Linked DNA regions of Homo sapiens: region 2 is linked to region 1. Evidence: promoter capture Hi-C in 16 types of primary human blood cells and fetal thymus (Javierre and others, 2016). All regions are on one chromosome and are shown on one strand. The core of a region is centred on a gene start or on the middle of the fragment in contact, and the rest is flanking DNA. Distances in the headings are between cores, read along the strand shown.

Region 1 (3,494 bases), core at 459-2,958:
TAATGACATCGAAAATGATATGAGAGCCACATCCTAAGTGAAAAGAGTTCTTTGTCAAATATAATTATTCTAAGACAAGCTAGCAGCCTTCCAACTACAGTTGATTTTTAAATTTATTTATTTGTCTTCTGGAGAAATAACCGTCCCGCCTGCTTCCAAAATGGAACATTTAGCTTGTTCTTTGCTGGCTACTTTGCGGCAAAAAGTATGAATCACAGATAGAAGAAAAACAAACTATAAAAAAAATGGTGTTTTTGCTCTTGAAAGTCTAAATTATAGAGCTACTATTTCTTAATCGTTCACCGTGAGGCAGCGATGTCAGGAAATCTGGGGAAGGAGTGAAGCAGTGAAAACGTGGAACACGTGAAAATGTCCGAGCTTGAAACAAAATACGGTAGTGGTGTGTGCACCGGGGTGGGATCACCACCCTTATCGAGTGTTGACATCATTGCATTCTCCAAGGAGAACTGTCACTGCTACCTTTTAAGGTACATCACAAAGCCAGTGGCTCCTTCACATGTCACCACCCTTCAGGAACCAAGCTAGGTTCTCCAAATTCACTTGAGTCTGGCTTAAGCCAATGTGGTTTTTTTAAAACGAGTGTTGGTAGCTTTAAATACACACACAGGTCCACGTGTCTCTGATCACACACTTGTTTCTACCGTTTTAAACTCCCTTTGGGGACTTGGGGGTGAGGGGCAATTTCTGAGCATTTGTGGGGGAAAAAACCATCCACTACATTAGGGGGTTAAGAAAGGTAAATGGGTGATAACTCTAACCACCAGATAGGAGTGTTTATTTCCATGAGTTTTCATTTCTATTTTCTCAAGGCTAACCCCTGCGTGAACACCTCCCCTCTAGCAGGACGCTGCGCGTGGCCCCCGTCCCCACCTGTCCACGCGAGGCGGGCCTCACCTGAGCGGCCGGGCACGCCCCGTCCCCGAACGGCCACCCACCCCGGGTAGGCACGCGTCACCTGTCCATCCACCTCGCTACCTTCTCTCTGCCACCAAAAGGCTTACGAAAATAAGGCGCAGGGGGTCTGGGAGACCCCATCACCAGGACTCAGCTTCTCTAAACGCGGGGTTGGGGGTCCAGGGACCCCCCCGTGCGACCCGCATGGGCTGTACCCGAGGGCGGGGGATAACGACATCCCCTGGGGCCTCGGCGACGACGCCGCCCGGCGGCGGGGGCCGCGGGGCCGCGGGCCGGGGCGGCGAAGACCCTGCGCCGCGCCCACGGGCGAGCGCGGCCCGGCAGCCCCGCGGCCCCGCGCTGGGCCTGGCCGCGGGCGGGCGGGGGGCGCGAGGCAGGGGACGGGGGCGCGGAGCCCGGCCAGGAGCGCCCGCGGCGGCGGGACCCGGCGGGCGGGCGGCGCGCAGGGCGATCCCGGAGCGGCTCCGGGAAATCCAGCCGGGTTTTGACTCCGATCGCCAACGGTGCCCGCAGCCGGCGAATGTAACAAAGAACAGTCGGCATGGCGGCTGGACCGGGGCGGCGCGCGGCTGCCGGGCGCGGGGGGCGGGGGGCAGCGGGCCCAGGGCGCGCCGGGGCTCGCGGGGGCAGCGGGTGCGGCCCGGGGCCGGCGGGGCGCACGCCGGGGCGGGCGGCGGGCGCAGGGCCCGGAGCTTTACCTGCCTTTGGAATGTGCAGAGCGGGATCGGATCCGGACTCCGGGTTGCGATCCGCTCCGGAAACTGCGCAGCACCGGAAGCCGGGGGGCGGCGGCGGGGCATGGCGGGACTTGTAGTCCGCGGGCGGGCGCGGGGGGCGCAGGCGAGACCCTGGCGCGGCCGGGGGTCCTGCGGGTGGGACTGCGGGGCGCGGGCGGCGTGGACGGGGCAGCGGGCGCGCGCGGGGCGGGTCTGGCCGGAGGGAATTCCGCGCGCGGCCCCCCTCCCACGTGGCACGGCCCTGCCGCCCACGCGCGCGGGCAGCTCCCTCTCCACCTCTCCTCGGACGCGTTTCTTGCGGAGTTGGGGAGTGGTGGCGGTGGGTGGGTCGAGTTTTTCTCTAGAACAGGCCTGGGACTTGCCCCCACTCACGGTGACCTCTGGATTTGGCCGGCGGGGCCCTGGGACACGAGCTCTGTGCCCGCGAGGGGAGTCTGGCCTGGCGGGCTCCGCCACGCTACCGGTGAGCACCGGGCCAGCCGCGGACCTGGCTCTCCATTCTTCCCCGGGGGCCTGTGTGGCCTCTCTTGACCCCCTCCACCAAGTGTGTGTGCCATCACAAAACGTGAGACGGAGAAGGGACAGACTTTTCACCTTAGTCCTGGCCGCCCATATTCAGAGAGGCCGACTGTCTTGTTCATTGCTGCCTGGCAAAAACCTACATTCATAAAGAGAAGTGATGAACCGGGGAAAATGATTTTAAATTGATGCCACAAAAGGGCTCGTTTCCCTCATGTACGTGAAACTCTTGTGAACCAATAAAAATATATATGTATATAGAAAAATGAGCAAAGTGTGTGGATGGACAGTTCGTAGGAAATTCAATGGTTCTTAAGCATATGAGAAGCTATTCAACTACGCTGCAATAAGAGAAAAAAAGTCGCAGTGGGATCATTTTTATTAGATTAGCAAAGATTTTTTAAAACGTTTAATACAACCTGGGCAACATAGCCAGACCTTGTCTCTAAAAAACTTAGCTGGGCTCGGTGGCACGTGCCCGTAGTCTCAGCTACTCAGGAGGCTGAGGCAGGAGGGTCACTTGAGTCCCACAGTTTGAGGCTGCAGTGAGCTGTGATCGTGTCACTGCACTCCAGCCTGGGCAACAGAGTGAGACCCTGTCTCAAACAAAAACAAACAAAAAAAAGTTTTAATAGCATAATTTTGAAGAAACTAGAGAAACAAGCTCCTTTACGGGTAGGAGAATAAATTAGCGTAGTTTCCATTCAGATATTTGTGGATATCCATAAAAATTCTAAATGCACATAGCCTTTGACCCACATGCAGGAATGGTGCCAGAGACGGACTCGCTTGTATGAATGGCATATGTGATCATCACATTTGCTTACATACTACGTGCCATCCCATGGGAAGTGTTGGATGCACCTGGGCACATCCATAGGCTGCAACGCCGGGCAGCCGGAGACAGATTAGGCAAGTGTTGATCTGTGAAGGCTGGTTTCTCTGCCTGGCCCAGCATTCTACAGTGGCTTCCATGTTGCACTATAGTAGGCCATCCCATGGCCCCCCAGACCTTTCTGGAGCATCCCCGGCGTCCACTGTCTCCCTGCTTGTCCCCACCTGCGACTTCATGCCTCCCTCCAGCCTCCTGTCCCTGAAGCCTGTTCCCAAGGCCTTCTGTACTCTATCTTCAAACACTTCCCAGGTTTTCCACAACCTTCTCTGTATTCAGGTCTCCGCCCAACCCCACTCCCACCACCACCACTACAGCTAATGGACATTCCCTCTATACACGCACCTCCAGTGACATCACTCACAGTTCCAAAATGGCCAGATGACTGGTTCTGTGGGCCTCAGGACATG
Region 2 (3,761 bases), core at 570-3,069, 210 kb after region 1:
ACAGGCAGCACCTGCTCTTAGATAATTTCTTAGTCAAAATCTGGCCACTGAACTCTCGGGGGAGAAATCTCATGGCGCTCTTAGGGGCCCTGAAATGGGAAGACACTTCTGGTGGAGCAGAGACCCGGATTTCCCAGTTTGCCTGGAGAGGCCAGGAGCTCCAGGTAGATTAGTTGCAGGTGTGGAGCTGGCTGTGCCTGCAGTGCCACAGGGGCCTGACGAGCGCCACAGCACCCGTAGGCAGGCCCTGCCACCTCAGATATGCGCCTGCTGGTCTGGAAAGTTCTCTTTTGATTGGGGTCTGCATCCAGGAGAATGGGAGAATGGGATGGCCTATACATATATATATATGTATAATGTTACATATTATTTAATATTTAAAATATTATATATTATAGCGTTAGTATGGTATGCAGTAATAAAGCAATAGTATACATAATATCAGATATTATGATAATACTATATCATTATACTACATGCTATTATATAGTATATATCATATTACATATGATTATACTATCCAATATTTGTAGTATCAATAAAATAATGACAAAGTATAAAGTAATTTTCTATATCAACATACTATGACAGTATAATGAGGCTGATAGGCTCTATTTACCTCCTAAGCAGATCTCTTCAAGGGAAGGCCTGCTGCTGTGGGTCCCAGGCCCAGCTCACCTCTGAGCAGGGATCGGTGGTCTTCAGGGACATTAGGATGGAGAGGAGCGAGGGGCGGGCAGTGAGGACATCCCCCGTCTCCTGTGGTAGATGTCTTTTTGCAGGGAGGTAAATGCAGAGCAGGGCCTCTCATGGCCTCTGGTTCCCTCTCCTGCCCCCTCTCCCACCCCAGCAGCTTTTGTGACTTCAACCTGTCCTGGGTCCATAATCATCAGTGTTTTCCCTTGTGTAGCTCCAGAGAGGGACCCTGTGGGCTCCTGGTACAACGTCACCATACTGGTGAAAATGGACTTCAAGGAACTCCAGCAAGTGGACCCCAGGCTCCTGAACCACATGCGCCTTCTGCATTCCTTGGTAGGTGAGACAGACGGGGGCTGCCTGCACCCTCCTTGTGGCAGCTGCTCAGGCAGACCCAGGTATGGGGCCGTGGAAGGGACCTGGGGGTTGGGGAGGGTGATGTTCCCCAAATGGCCCCAAATGACTGACTCTGAACGAAATTCTAGTTCTTAAAAAATCAGCTTCAAAGAGGTATGATTTACATGCAACAAAATGCACACAACTGAAGCGTGTAGTTGGCTGAGTTGTTATGTGTGTACCCTCATAGGCCCGCCTGTCGTGGTGGAGAACGCGGATCCCTAAGCTTGCAGGGGTCTGCAGTCCCAGCAAAGACAGCCTAAGCCCCGAGCTCTTCCCTCACCACCCTCAGTCCCAATTTCTTCAAGTTCTGGCTCCTGCTTCGTGGAAGCCAGCACCAACCTGGGAGTGCTGAGATGGGAACCGTAGCCCAGGGCTGGAGAGCACCCTGGGGTCTGATGGTTAGCAGCGCCCCTGGCCTCTCCACACAAGTCAGAAGCACACCCCAGGGTGGCATCCAAAACTGTCTCCAGACGTCGCCCACTGTCCCCTGGGGATAAAAACAAACACCCTGGCTGACCCTTGCTGATGACACAGGTCATGCTTTCTGGCCCATCAGCAGTGATTACCAACCAGGATGTCTTCTCCAGCTCAGGCCACCATCAGTCTCGGGAATCCCAGTGTGGACAGGGCGCTGCGTGTCCCCAAGGCTGCCGCGTGTCCCCAAGGCCGCCCTCCCTGGGGGATGGTCTGGCTTCAGGACCGGCTGCTGACAGGGGCTTGTGCTCAGAGGGGCCTCAGCTTGGTCTAATGTGCTGCTGTTGCCTCTGGAAATGCCGAACACTTTTCAGACAAGGGGCCCCGCATTTTCCTTTGGCATCTGTGTAGCTGTTCTGTGCTTCAGATCTTTTGTGTGTCCCATATGTCCCTGGGTGTCTTGGTGTCAAACCCAGGGTTGGGTCACTCCTTGGCCGTTAGACTAAGCTGGCTGGCAGCCCAGATCAGATGGTGCACACCTCATGTTGTTCTGGGCTGCTGGCCAGTGAGCTGCTAGACAGGTAGTCTGCAGCCTCGGCCTTAACAGCCCGGGCTAGGAGTGATTCCTGTTTCCTCTTAGCTTGTTAAGGGGACTGCCCAATTGGCCAGTAAGAAACTAGCTCTGAAGCCACACTGCCTGGCCCTAGTGTTGCCACTCATCAGCTGTGTGACCTTGGGTAAGTCACTTAACCTCTCTGTGCCTGAGATACCTCCTCCATTAAACATAAATAATCGGCCAGGAGTGGTGGCTCAAGCTTGTAATCCCAGCACTTTGGGAGGCCGAGGCAGGCGGATCACTTGAGGTCAGGAGTTAAAGACCAGCCTGGCCAACATGGCGAAACCCTGTCTCTACTAGAAATCCAGTAATTAGCCAGGCGTGGTGGCACGTGCCTGTAATCCCAGCTACTGGGGAGGCTGAGGCAGGAGAATTGCTTGAACTCAGGAGGCGGAGGTTGCAGTGAGCTGAGATCGTGCCACTGCACTCCAGCCTGGGCTACAGAGCGAGACTCTTGTCTCTAAATAAATAAAAAGTAAATAAATAGAAATAATCATAACCCTGCCTGAGACAGGGCCATGAGCTTAAATCATACATGTAAAGAGCTTGAGATGGTTCCTGAGCTTCCTGATGCGTGTGGGGCCTGAGATGTTGTGGTTGTTGTGTTTTCAATATTGCTGCGTGACACCTGCTGTCTCCTCGTGCATGTAGGTTTCATGTCTCCAACCAGCCCATTACCCCCTGCAGAAGCGCCTGCCTTGCACAGGGGTCAGGCACCAGCAGGGGCTGGTCTCTGAGGCCTGCTTCTGCTGCTGAATAAGGGGTTCCGATGAGGTCGGGGCTGGTTCCCAGTTCTGTATGCTAAATTATGAGCTGCATCTCCTCCCAGGAAGGGGCTTCAAGTGTGTATCGGAGGACTCCTGCTCTCCCCAAACCTCCTTTGGAGTTCCCAGTGGAGGCTTGGGGGTTTGCTGGCAAAGTTTGTTCTGGTGACCACTGGTCTGGCTGTGCAGCTGCCAGTTCACCTGGCTTCCCAAGGGTTGAGATTTCAAGATATTAAGCTGAAATAAAAATACTGCATATGAAATGAGGAAAGTGATCATTAAACCTCAGAAAAATAATTGGATGTGTACAACAGGAGACCGTGGCTTTTGATCTCTAATTGTCTAATTCTAGTTCTAATTCTCTGTTGTCAGCTGCAAGAGACCTGCAGTCTTGGCAAGGGCAGAAGACCGAGGGTCCTGGGTCTGGCTGCTGTATTAGTGTCCTGGGGCCACTGTAACCAAGGACCACAGACTGGGGGCTTCAAACAACAGAAACTTATTCTGTCACAGTTCTGGGGGCTGAAGAGTCTGAAATCAAGGTGTCGGCAGGGCTGGTTCCTCCTGAGGCCCCCAGGCCTCTCTCCTTGGCCTGCAGACGGCTGTCTTCTCTGTCTCTTCACACTGTCTTCCCCCATTCATGTCTGTTTCTGTGTCCAAATTTCCCCTTTTTGTGAGGGCACCAGCCATATTGGATTAGAACCCACCTTCACTAATTATATCTGCAGTAACCCTATTTCCAAATAAGGTCACATTCTGAGGTACTGGAGGTTAGGACTTCAACATATGGATTTTAGGGGACAGAATTCAGCTTATCACAACTGGTACTGAAAGGTACTGATAGTTCCGGTTTGTAGGACTTCTATTGGGATAGT

Evidence for each region. The method cuts DNA at HindIII sites, captures the fragments that hold promoters and counts their contacts. A CHiCAGO score of 5 or more calls a contact.
Region 2: a fragment that was not itself captured here is called in contact with the fragment with the promoter of PRDM15 in region 1 in 1 of 17 cell types (naive B cells); the score reaches 6.0 in naive B cells.

What each region holds. Positions count from the first base shown.
Region 1 is chr21:41,877,636-41,881,129 of GRCh38, forward strand. PRDM15 (PR/SET domain 15) reads right to left here and starts at 1,709. Exons shown (of 24, transcript NM_001040424.3): 1 at 1,635-1,709. RefSeq lists enhancers at 533-582, 1,583-1,632 and a silencer at 1,783-1,832. The HindIII fragment of the contact is 16,753 bases long and covers 1-3,494 here.
Region 2 is chr21:42,084,381-42,088,141 of GRCh38, forward strand. UMODL1 (uromodulin like 1) reads left to right here. Exons shown (of 23, transcript NM_001004416.3): 4 at 911-1,032. Among named protein-coding and RNA genes, the nearest start is that of UMODL1, 15 kb to the left of the region's middle. The HindIII fragment of the contact is 1,006 bases long and covers 1,317-2,322 here.